Regions from separate parts of the Homo sapiens genome. Here all the other regions are linked to region 1. Evidence: promoter capture Hi-C in human tissues and cell types (Jung and others, 2019). All regions are on one chromosome and are shown on one strand. The core of a region is centred on a gene start or on the middle of the fragment in contact, and the rest is flanking DNA. Distances in the headings are between cores, read along the strand shown.

The links. The method cuts DNA at HindIII sites, captures the fragments that hold promoters and counts their contacts. A contact is called where the count stands out against the background at its distance.
Region 2: a contact is called between a fragment that was not itself captured here and the fragment with the promoter of NR2C2AP in region 1, in 2 of the 25 tissues and cell types used here (bladder and dorsolateral prefrontal cortex).
Region 3: a contact is called between a fragment that was not itself captured here and the fragment with the promoter of NR2C2AP in region 1, in 1 of the 25 tissues and cell types used here (dorsolateral prefrontal cortex).

The regions. Positions count from the first base shown.
Region 1 is chr19:19,201,629-19,205,528 of GRCh38, forward strand. It overlaps NR2C2AP (nuclear receptor 2C2 associated protein), which reads right to left and starts at 1,786. Exons shown (of 5, transcript NM_176880.6): 1 at 1,395-1,786; 2 at 1,163-1,253; 3 at 842-947; 4 at 703-770; 5 at 1-413. The coding sequence starts at 1,432. The coding sequence ends at 297. It overlaps RFXANK (regulatory factor X associated ankyrin containing protein), which reads left to right. Exons shown (of 10, transcript NM_003721.4): 10 at 21-238. The coding sequence ends at 91. RefSeq lists a silencer at 762-1,028 and an enhancer at 1,692-1,986. The HindIII fragment of the contact is 14,823 bases long and covers 1-3,900 here.
Region 2 is chr19:19,591,749-19,595,648 of GRCh38, forward strand. All of the region lies in intron 2 of PBX4 (PBX homeobox 4), which reads right to left. Among named protein-coding and RNA genes, the nearest start is that of PBX4, 25 kb to the right of the region's middle. RefSeq lists an enhancer at 868-1,492. The HindIII fragment of the contact is 8,394 bases long and covers 1-3,900 here.
Region 3 is chr19:19,466,607-19,470,506 of GRCh38, forward strand. All of the region lies in intron 2 of GATAD2A (GATA zinc finger domain containing 2A), which reads left to right. Among named protein-coding and RNA genes, the nearest start is that of MIR640, 33 kb to the left of the region's middle. The HindIII fragment of the contact is 7,140 bases long and covers 1-3,900 here.

The DNA.
Region 1 (3,900 bases), core at 536-3,035:
TTTTCCCTGCCCCATCTCAGTGCAACAGGTGATCGAGAACCACATCCTCAAGCTCTTCCAGAGCAACCTGGTGCCCGCTGACCCTGAGTGAAGGCCGCCTGCCGGGGACTCAGACACTCAGGGAACAAAATGGTCAGCCAGAGCTGGGGAAACCCAGAACTGACTTCAAAGGCAGCTTCTGGACAGGTGGTGGGAGGGGACCCTTCCCAAGAGGAACCAATAAACCTTCTGTGCAGAATGAGGGACTTTGCTGTGCTTCCCGGAGGGCTTCCTGGAGGAGACAGCCCCTAGAGGTCTCACACCTTCTCCCCAAGCACCCGCAGGTGGTAGATGACCACACGGCCAAAAAAGTCAGTGGCATCCTCAAACGTCACCTTCAGCCGGTCCACTTCAGCAGCTGGTATGGGGAAAGTGTGAGCGTGGGCAGTCAAGGGAAACTGGTGATTTCTGGTTTCCCACCCGCAGGCCCCCACCCCTTCCAGACCCAGCTCACACTCCACCGATGTGGGCAACCTGGGGAAGCTGCAGGTCCCTCTAAGCCTCTCACACAGAACAGGTGGTCATCAGCACCATTTTACAGAAAAAGTGGAGTCCTAGAGGTCACGTGTTCAAGATCACACATCAGGGTTCCCATTCGGGTTTGGGTGAGTCCAAAGCTTCCAGAGGCACAGACCACCCACCCCAGAAGCAGGGGCAGGATATCTGAAGCGAGTTGTTGTCCTCAGGGTAGAAATCTACAATCTTGTGGAGAGCCTGAGTGCCCTGTGAACCTTCAGCAGAGAAAGGCAATGAGTGTCTGGGGTGACCCCTGGAACCCCTGCCACCCAGGGCCTTCTAGTACCTTCCAGGCAGCCCCGGCGACTGGAGAAGCCACCCTGAAACTGGATCTGCAGCTGGGAGACACGGATGAGCTGGGGAAACTCCAGCGTCACCCACTGGGAGGGGCCCTGGAAGCAGACAGGGAAACTGAGGCGCAAGCTCACTGCAGGCACAGAGCCCTGCTATGCCTGTCTCATTCACATAGTTCTTGGAATGGAGGGGAAGAAGGAAATTCGGCACATGTTCCTTTCCTGGCCACCCATGAGGGCCCCCTGACGTTCTCAAGGCATGAGATCTGAATCTGAATCACCCTAGAGATGGAGGGTCGAGGGAGGCGCCTCACCTGGTCTGAGTTCCAACATGTCTCCTCATCCTGGTCGAAAAGATGTTTTTTTCCAAACTGCCGAGTGTTGCGATTCAGCACTGAACTCACCCTGGAGGCACCAGGATCAAGGCGAAGAGAGGGGCTGAGACCAGCTCTCAGCTCCGCGGAGGGCCTGACCCCCAGATCTGTCCACTGAGGGCTCGACCCCAGGCTTAGGGCCTCGCCACTGCCTGTCCCCACAGACTCTTACCTGCTCACTGTCTCTGGACAAACCAAAGAGTGGGTCATGTCGGTTCCACAAGACCTCGCAGGGCTTAGGATTGGGCACAGCCTTGGTTCGAATCCCGGCGCCTCCTCAAGCTACAGGGCGGCGCGATCTTGGCTACGCCTTGGCCTGAACGTCCTCACCTGTAACTTGGGACGAGAACCGCCACTCCCTCGCCCACCCCAGTCCTAAATGTCGCCTCGATCAATCCCCTGCCGGAAAATTTGGGAGAGAGGATCAGGGAAACCGCCAATGCCCGGAGGCCAGGCCTTTCACAGGAAACAGATTTCCCGCGGGTTTCGGGGGCGGTGGCTTTTTGTGCGAGGCTGTTTCTCTGCGAATAGCTCTTGGAGCCAAATCTTGGGACCCGGAACCGCGTGGGCTTGGCGCATGCGTGTTGTAATTCAGGCGCCGACCGCGGACGCTCCAGAGGTGGGGTTTGGTTCGACCCCGCCCCTTCATGCTCGCTTCTTAAAGGGCCCGGGTTCGATGATTGAATTTACCTTGGTTCCCTTGAAGCTGTAGGGAAAAGGCTGGCTGCGCGCACGGGGCGCTGTCCCTCGGCGCCCGAAGGTGTAGAGCACTGATTTTGACTGATTTTGGAATCCGAAAGACTTCCTTTTTTTTTTTTTTTTTTTGAGGCGGAGTCTCACTGTCGCCCAGGCTGGAGTGCAGTGGCACGATCTCCGCTCACTGCAAGCTCCGCCCCCTGGGTTCACGCCGTTCTCCTGCCTCAGCCTCCCAAGTAGCTGGGAATACAGGCGCCCGCCACCACGCCCGGCTAATTTTTCGTATATTTAGTAGAGACGGGGTTTCACCGTGTTAGCCAGAATGGTCTTGATCTCCTGACCTCGTGATCCAGCCGCCGGGGCTTCCAAAGTGCTGGGATTACAGGCTTGAGCCACCGCGCCCGGCCTTTTTTTTTTTTTTTTTTTGAAGTGGGGTCTCACTGTCACCCAGGCTGGAGTACAATGGTGGGATCGCGGCTCTCTGCGACCTCTGCCTCCCAGGCTCCAGCAATCCTCCTACCCAGCTTCCCGAATAGTTGGAACTAGTAGGCGCGCGCCACCACGGCAGGCTATTTTGTTTGTTTGTTTGTTTGTTTGTTTTTTGGTAGAGATGAGGTTTCGCCATGTTGCCCAGATTGGTCTCGAACTCCTGGGCTCAAGTGATCCGCCCACCTCAGCCTCCCAAAGTGCTGGGATTACAGGCGTAAGCCACCGCGCCCGGCCAGAGAGACTTCCTATGACAATGTCTTTCTTCCTACTCTAACCTACTCTACCCTAACGGCTACCCTAACCTACTCTAACCTACTCTACCCTAACCACTAAATGCAGCCTGGGAATCCCCGAACTTCACTGCCTCCCGGAGGCCAAAGGCAGAGTTGTGGAAAAGGCCACGATGTTGGGAGTATCTGAAGTCCTCATCAACCCTTTTTGTTCTTGTTGGGACAGAGGAGCCCTGGCCTCCAAGTTTGTCTTTCCCAGAAAATGCTGCTGGGACGTCAAGGAAGGCTTCTTGGAGGAGGGAGCATGCGAGGTCGGGTGTTTTTTGTTGTTTCTGTTTTGTTTTGTTTCGAGACGGAGCCTCACTTTGTTGCCCAGGCTGGAGTGCAGTGGTGTGATCTCAGCTCACTGCAACCTCCGCCTCCCAGGTTCAAGTGATTCCCCTGCCTCAGCCTCCTGAGTAGCTGTGACTACAGGTGCGCACCACTATGCCTGGCTAATTTTTGTATTTTTAGTAGAGATGGGGTTTCGCTATCTTGGCCAGGCTGGTCTCGAACTCCTAACCTCGTGATCTGCCCGCCTTGGCCTCCCAAAGTGCTGGGATTACAGGTGTGAGCCACCGCACCCAGGCTGTGAGGTGGGTTTTGAAGCATGAACAGGAGTTTGCCAAACAAAGCCTCAGATACCAAGCTGAAGATTTGGTTCACTGATTCACTAGACACCTCCTGCAAGCTCTACTGTCACACTGTCATGTCCAGCCTTCTGCTGGATGATGCTGGGGACAGCAAGAGGCCTCAGCTCCAGGCCTGTCCCAGAGGAGCCCCTGATCTGGGCAAGACAGAGGTAGACATAGACACTCCTAGCCCCAAGGGAGAGATGGGGCCGGAGGAGCAGGGGCTCTACCTGGAGGAAGGGCTTCCTGGGAAAGGGGATGTTAGAACTGCACCTTAATAGGGGGTCAGGCGCCAGGAATTCACAAGGGTGAGAAAATCTGGAGTGGGGAGGGTGTCCCAGGCAGGGAGCTTAGCATAAGCCAAGGCCTAGTTGGGTGAAAGACCATGAATTTGAATAAAATATGTGGAGCCACATCCTGCTGGGCCCGGAGCAGTCATGGAAGGTGTTGGAGAAAGGGCAGGACACCATCCGTTCTGCATGAATGGAGGGTTCCAAGACAGAGCAGCCACTGGCAAGAGGCTGTTGTTCCTGGCTTTAGCTGAATGGTCTGGCAGCCAGCCCCTTTCTTCAAGGGCTGGAGGAATGGTCCT
Region 2 (3,900 bases), core at 557-3,056, 390 kb after region 1:
GACACATTCCAACGTGCCAGGCTGTCCCTGCTCTGGTGCCAAACACCACTGTGTGAATTCAGGCCACGCCTCAGTCCTCACTGGGAACATCAATGTGACAAACCTTATTTTTTATTTTTATATTTTTTTAGAGGCAGAGTCTCACTTTGTCGCCCAAGCTGGGGTGCAGTGGTGTGATCTCAGCTCACTGCAAACCTCACATCCCAGGTTCAAGTGATTCTTCTGCCTCAGCCTCCCGTGTAGCTAGGATTATAGGCACCCGCCACCATGCCCAGCTAGTTTTTGTATTTTTAGTAGAGATGGGTGGGTGAGGGAGGTGGGGGGGTGGTTCACCATATTGGCCAGGCTGGTCTCGAACTCCTGACCTCAGGTGATCCGTCTGCCTCAGCCTCCCAAAGTGCTGGGATTATAGGCGTGAGCCACTGTACCTGGCCAACGTGACACATCTTAAATCCAACGCTTTCGAATTCTGCAACATACCTAGTCCCAGGGTCTCAGCAAAGGGACTGTGGCCCGTATCTGGTTCTCCCAGCTAAATTCAAAGCTCTGCAACTAATCAGGGTTTATTTTGTTCTCAGAACAGCTCCTCTAGACACCGAGGAGGACAGCTGTTTCTGGGAAGGAGGGTTTGGGAGGAAATGCATACGCTGAGGGTGTCCTTGGCCTTCAGAGACCACCGCAGGGCAGGAACACCCAGACACTGTGGTGTGGTGAAGCTGACCCCAGGAGACAAGCTTTGAGGGACCTGCCTGCATACCTCCGACAGGCCATTCCTGGGGTTCACCAGGGACTGCTGGCAGTGCATCCGGTGATGCCAGGTTTACATGGAGGACCACGTTCTTTTCAGGCTGCTGTGAGTGATAAGCCCTGTGTTCTAAGTCAGGCCCCCAGACACTGAATCTTCTGAACCTCATAAGGGGAACTGGATGAAAGGGATTTCAGTTAGTATGTATCAGTCACCAGAAACAGTTTTTCAATCAACAAAAACAGAAAGGCACCGGGACAGACCCTGAGAACATAGCGCATCCTAGACCCTGCGCTGGCCAGGAATGGTCATTGTTCAGATGACACAGGTGGGTGTGTGGGGCCCATGAGTGCCGGCCATGAGGGACAGGCCCTGGGTCCCTTTCATGAGTGAGGACAGTGTACGGGGTGGGGCGGCATGCAGCCTGGCTGTGGGTGACTGGTGTGCCCTGGGGAGGCCCCTGTCTCTTAGAGCTTCCCACTGCCCATCTGTAAAACGGGAGAAAAGGGTCTGCCCGAGGCTGTGCAGGGCTCTGGGGAACAACTCGAGGAAGCCCCGAGCTGCCTGCCCAGGCTCCATCAATACCCACCAGACTTAATCTTTGCCGTTGTTGTTGTTGTAGAGACAGGGTCTTACTGTGTTGCCCAGGTTGGTCTCATACTCTTGGGCTCAAGCGATTCCAAAGTACTGGGATTATAAGTGTGAGCCACCATGTCCTGCCCCACCAGGCTTTAAATGCTCTGTGGAAGTTTGGTCTTTACCATAAGGCCTGCTGCAGACTTCAGCCAGAGGGAAATGTGAGAACTGTGGGTTAAATCGAGAAGCACGCCAGGACCCCGGCTCATGGGATTGCCCTTCAAGAGGCGGCCCGTGGGTACCACAGGGTGCAGGATCAGGACCATGAACAGTTTCCTCTGGGCTGAGACTTGGCCATTCCTAGTCACGGGATGAGGACAGATGGAGCAGAATCGAAATCCTGTTTACTTTCCTGCCACTGGCTGGTTTGTCTCCGAGACTAGAAGGCTGAGGTGTTCCTGACATCAAGGCAGGTGGCCCACAGGTGGGACCCACAGCACTCACTGACTGCACTTCCTGATATAAAAAGATACCTGGACACTCCAGGTGACACTCAGGAACAGGCATCCCTCAGCTCCAGGCTTGTGCATTTCAGGGAGGAGCAGTTGCTGTCTCATCCCTGTCCTACTGTACCCCAAAACATACCCTGTACCCAGATGTTTGAGCCAGTCAGTGGGAAGAAAGCATTAGCTTCCAAGGAAATGCCCAGGTGGCCGGTGCTCTGAGCCCTGCAGCGGCCTTGGGACTCAGCTTGGAGGAATCAAAAGTCCTGAGTGGCCAGGCACAGTGGCGCCTGCCTGTAACCCCACACCTTGGGAGGCTGAGGCAGGAGGATCACTTGAGCTCAGGAGTTCAAGGCCAACCTGGGCAACATACTAAGACCTCATCCCCCCAAAAATAGTCCTCAGCGACCCCTAGACATGGTGGTGTGTGCGGAAGCTGAGGTGTGAGGATCACTTGAGCCCAGGAGTTTGAAGCCAATCTGGGCAACACAGTGAGACTCTGTGTCTTAATTAAAAAAAAAAAAAAATAAAAAATAAAAAATTAAAAATGTCGCCGGGCATGGTGGCACATGGCTGTAATCCCAGCACTTTGGGAGGCCGAGGCGGGCGGATCACCTGAGGTCAAGAGTTCAAGACCAGCCTGACCAACAGGGTGAAACCCTGTCTCTACTAAATACAAAAAATTAGCCGGGTGTGGTGGCAGATGCCTGTAATCCCAACTACTCGGGAGGCTGAGGCAGGAAAATTGCTTGAACCTGGGAGGCAGTGAGCCGAGATTGCGCCATTGCACTCCAGCCTAGGCAACAAGAGTGAAACTCTGTCTAAAAAAAAAAAAAAAAGAGTCCTGAGCATGGCCCTCAAAGCCTAGGCAGATGGGGGTAGGGAGGTGGGGCGACACCAGCGGTTGAAATGGACAGACATCTCAGCTGCACTGGCAACAGTTGGTATCAACTCTTGTTTTCCCTCCTGAAACTGCTGAATTTGAGACTAACAGACTCATGCAGTAACATCCACACAGGGGCAGATGGAATTATGAAGAGGCGTGCCCAGGCTGAACACCCACACTCTCAAAAATTGGTTTCTCGTTCAGCCCCAGCAGCTCACTGGTAGGAAGGTCAAGAATGACAGCTTCCTGAGACTACAGTTGATTAAAGTACTTTTTTTTTTTAGACAGGGTCTCACTCTGTCACCCAGGCTGGAGTGCAGTGGCGCAATGTCATCTCACTGCAACCTCTGCCTCCTGGGTTCAAGTGATACTCCTGCCTCAGCCTCCTGAGTAACTGGGATTACAGGCGCATGCCACCACGCCCAGCTAATTTTTGTATTTTTAGTAGAGACGGGGTTTCATCATGTTGGTCAGGCTGGTCTCGAACTCCTGATCTCAGGTGGTCCAACTGCCTCGGCCTCCCAAAGTGCTGGGATTACAGGCGTGAGCCACCGCACCCAGCCTTTAAAAAGTACTTTTTAAAATAGTTTTTTATTATTACTAAATTCCAGATGTTGCATTGCTAAACATCCGCTGTGGGCAGTGGGGAGCCCCCAAAGGCTGCTTCCTGGGGTCAGGGTCAGGGGTGAGCAAGGGACAACTTGGGCTGCCTGTGCCTATTGGTACACATGCCTCAGCAAGTGGTCCTGACACTGGCTTATTTTTATTAGGTGAAAAGTGAAAGGGACCAACATTACACAATTCCACAATACTAAGAAACACGTGACCACAGCCAGTGTCTCCAGGGGGTGGATACACATTGGCTGTGTCCTTCTGAGCGGCTTCCCTCAGCCTGCAGTACTTGGGGCTCATTCGGGTACAGGGCCCCCGCTTGTCCAGCTTACCACACGAATGCTGAAGCACCATCAGGGAGTGCTGCCAGGGAGTTGAGGGCAAATTTGCTTAAAACCAGTTCACCGCTAACAAGAAACTTGTGTGTCTGGTTCCCCAGGAAAGCCTAACCTTTGTGTTTCCATTTCCATGGCATCTGCTCCCCACAATTTAAATAAGGAACAGATAAGACAGGTCATCAGATATTTACATACCCATGAGAGGCATATGAGGTGGGCAGGAAGCCAGGGGCATCACAG
Region 3 (3,900 bases), core at 362-2,861, 260 kb after region 1:
CCTGAGGACTTCAGAGATCATCTGGTGTTCACAGCGTTTAAAATGGGAAGATAAATGGGAAAACCCAAGCCTGCTCCTGTTGACAAAGCCTCCTAGTCTGAGGAAATATACTTTGTAGTCCTGCTGTCCAAAGAGGGCTTTTCTGTCTGACTCTGCTGTCTGCAGTCCCCATTCTAAAACCAAGGTCCTCTTCTAAAGTTCCAGAAATAAAACTATAGGTCCAAGTCTCCTTTTCCTTTCTCTATGTTTTCAGCCAGAGACCAGTCCATGACAGCTCAGCAGGGGTGAGCAGTGAGGGGCTGGTGTGGAGTCAGGGCAGGAAGAGGAGGAGTCCATGTTCATGGGAATCTGCAGTCCATGTGCATGGGGTCCCTTGTGCATTCCTGGGTTGCTGACATGCATTTTCTCCTGTAATCACCATGTTCCCCTGCAGGGTAGGTCAGTGGATTGTGAGGGAGAAGTTAAGTGTTAAAGAAACTCAGAGTTCAGCTGGGCGCGGTGACTCACGCCTGTAATCCCAGCACTTTAGGGGGCCGAGGCGGGTGGATCACAAGGTCAGGAGATTGAGACCATCCTGGCTAACACGGTGAAACCCCATCTCTACTAAAAATACAAAAAAATTAGCTGGGTGTGGTGGCGGGTGCCTGTAGTCCCAGTGACTTGGGAGGCTGAGGCAGGAGAATGGTGTGAACCTGGGAGGCGGAGCTTGCAATGAGCCGAGATCGCGCCACTGTACTTCAGCCTGGGGAAAGAGTGAGACTCTGTCTCAAAAAACAAAAAAATATTGCTAGCACCTCTGAAGCCCCCTCATGCTTGCTTGCTGCCACTGTCTTCCAAGGGTAATCACTTTCTTGACAATATGGATTAGTTTTTCCTGCTTTGGTACTTTAAATAAGTGGGATTATATACTATGTACCTTTTATCTTCCTGCTTTCACTCAGCATTGTGAGATTTACCCATATTGTTGTGCATACCAGTAGTTAATCCATTTTCATTGCTGTATAGTATTTTGTTTATAGAGTTTCTATTTGGGTATTTTTCAAAACTACCTTTTTTTCTTTCATGCTAACTTATTACCATCTTATGACCGAATCTGGGCATATTGAAAGCTAGAGGCAGTTTCTGATGGCTTCTAGGAGAGAGAATTTCCTTTTTCTTTAGTGGCTGGTGAATTGGAATCATCAAGAAATATATATGTTTGCATGTGTGTGTATAGTGTACATATTGCTATGTTGGATGATTTGGAGCATGCAGAGGCAGATACAGTAGTAGAATCAGCTTTCTGCCTCCATCTTTTACTCCGCTCCCTGTCGCTCTTTAACTCAGCAGTTTTTCTCTCTCAGTCTCCCAACTTGTGTGAGTGTTTTATATTCTACATAAATTGAGGGTGGAGGGCAACTTCTGGTTGTGTTGAATGAGGAGATTGGCAGAATTGACAAAAGCAAAATGAAACAATCTCAGCATTCTGGAAAAATTGAGCAGGGGCATACAACAATCTGAGAAGTATTTATGCCTGTAACTGCTGAATTTCAGGTGAGAACAGTGAGACTGTATGGCATTTGGCCTGGAGCTATTCCTATGCCCTCTCCCATCTGTTTGGTAAAGAGGTTCTGTCCAGCCACTGTCAGCTTTGAGGACCAACAGCTTCGCTGTGTGGGTGAAAAGGAGGACTGTTCATTTTAGAGTGGTAGCAACCCTGCCTGTGGTCTTGTAGATGAGAGTGACAGTCTTGGAGATGGGCAAGTGGGGAGACACAGCGGCTCTGTTTTAGCCCAAGGTTGGGGCAAGATAGAAAAACTATTTGAAGAAATAATGGGCAAAAACATACTTGAGGAGAAACTCATCCAGGAATCCCAACAAACCCTAAATAGCATAAGTACAAAGAGATCTTGACCTAGATACATCATAGTCAAACTGTAGAAAGCCAAAGAAAAGAAGAAAATCTTGAAAGTAGCAAAAGAAAAACAACTCAGCACATCTGGGGAGCATTAATAAGATGAACAGCTGACTTCTGACTCGAGACAATGGAAACAAAAAGGAGTTGAATGATGTTAAAAGTATCCAAAGAAGAAAACTGCCAACCCAGAATTCTATACCAGTAAAAACAGTCCTTCAAAAATGAAAGCAAAAAAGACATTGTCAGGTAAACAAGACTGAAGGAATCCATTGCTGGTAGACCTGCCAGTTCTTCAGCCTGAAAATAAATGACACGTTGGCAGCTTGAGTCTATGAGAAGAAATAAAGAACACTGGAAATGGTAAATGCATGGGTTAACTGGAAAGACTTAACTAGTTCTGCAGTCTGGAAGCCAACCAAAGGCTTTGAATGATTTGTTGGGTTTATAATATCCACAGATAAAATATATGTCATATTAGTACAAAAGATGGGGAATTAAATGGAGCAATATTGGAGCAAAATTTCTGTATCTTACTGGAATCAAGTTAGCATCAGTCTTATATAGATTGTGATTAAGATGCTTACTGTAATGCCTAGAGCAGCTCTGAACAAAATAACTTTAAAATATAGTTTTTTAAAAAAATCAGGGCTGGGCACAGTGGCTGACTCCTGTAATTCCAGCACTTTGGGAGGCTGAGGCAGGTGGATCACAAGGTCAGGAGACCAAGACCATCCTGGCTAACGCAGTGAAACCCCGTCTCTACTAAAAATACAAAAAAATTAGCCTGGCATGGTGGTGGGCACCTGTAGTCCCAGCTACTTGGGAGGCTGAGGCAGGAAAATGGTGTGAACCTGGGAGGCGGAGCTTGCAGTGAGCCAAGATCGCGCCACTGCACTCCAACCTGGATGAAAGAACGAGACTCCATCTCAAAAAAAAAGAAAAAAAGATCATCAGAATTAAAGTTATACACTAAAAAATATTTAACACGAAAGAAGGCAGTTTCTTTATTCACTGAGAAATAAAGGAACAAACAAGAGGACATGTAGAAAACAAAATGGCAAATGTCAATCCAGCCATGTCAATAATGCAGTAACTGTGAAGGATCTAAATACCTCAATCAAAAGGCAAGGACTATCAGATAGTGTAAAGAAGCAAGATTCAGGCTGGGCGCAGTGGCTCACGCCTGTAATGCCAGCACTTTGGGAGGCCAAAGTGGGCGGATCACAAGGTCAGGAGTTTGATAGCAGCCCCTGGCCAATATGGTGAAACCCCGTCTCTACTAAAAATACAAAAATTAGCCAGGCGTGGTGGCACGCACCTATAGTCCCAGCTACTTGGGAGGCTGAGGCAGGAGAATCACTTGAATCCGTGAAGCGGAGGTTGCAGTAAGCTGAGATGGTGCCACTGCACTCCAGCCTGGGTGACAGAGCTCCGTCTGTCTCAGAAAAAAAAAAAAAGAAGCAAGATTCAGCTTAATTATATGTTGTTTATAAGTGACGCCCCTTAGATTCAAGGAATAATACAAAAGGATGGAAAAAGAGGTACCATAAGTAACCGCTTGAGAGCTGGAGTAACTGTATTAATAAGAGATAAAAGACACTTTAAGACCAAAAAATTACTAGAGCCAAACTGCGACTTTATTTTTTTTTTTGTTTTTTTTTTTTTGAGACAGAGTCTCACTCTGTCACCCAGGCTGGAGTGCAGTGGCACGATCTCCACCTCGTGGGTTTCAGTGATTCTCCTGCCTCAGCCTCTTGAGTAGCTGAGACTACAGGTGCCCGCCACCACGCCCAGCTAATTTTTTGTATTTTTAGTAGAGGCAGGGTTTCACCATGTTGGCCAGGCTGATCTTGAACTCCTGACCTCGTGATCCGCCCGCCTCACCCTCCCAAATTGCTGGGATTACAGGCGTGAGCCACTGTGCCCAGCTGCGACATTTCATATGATATTTCAGGAAGACATAACAGTCAGCAGAGCCCCCAAATACCTGAAAACATAAACTT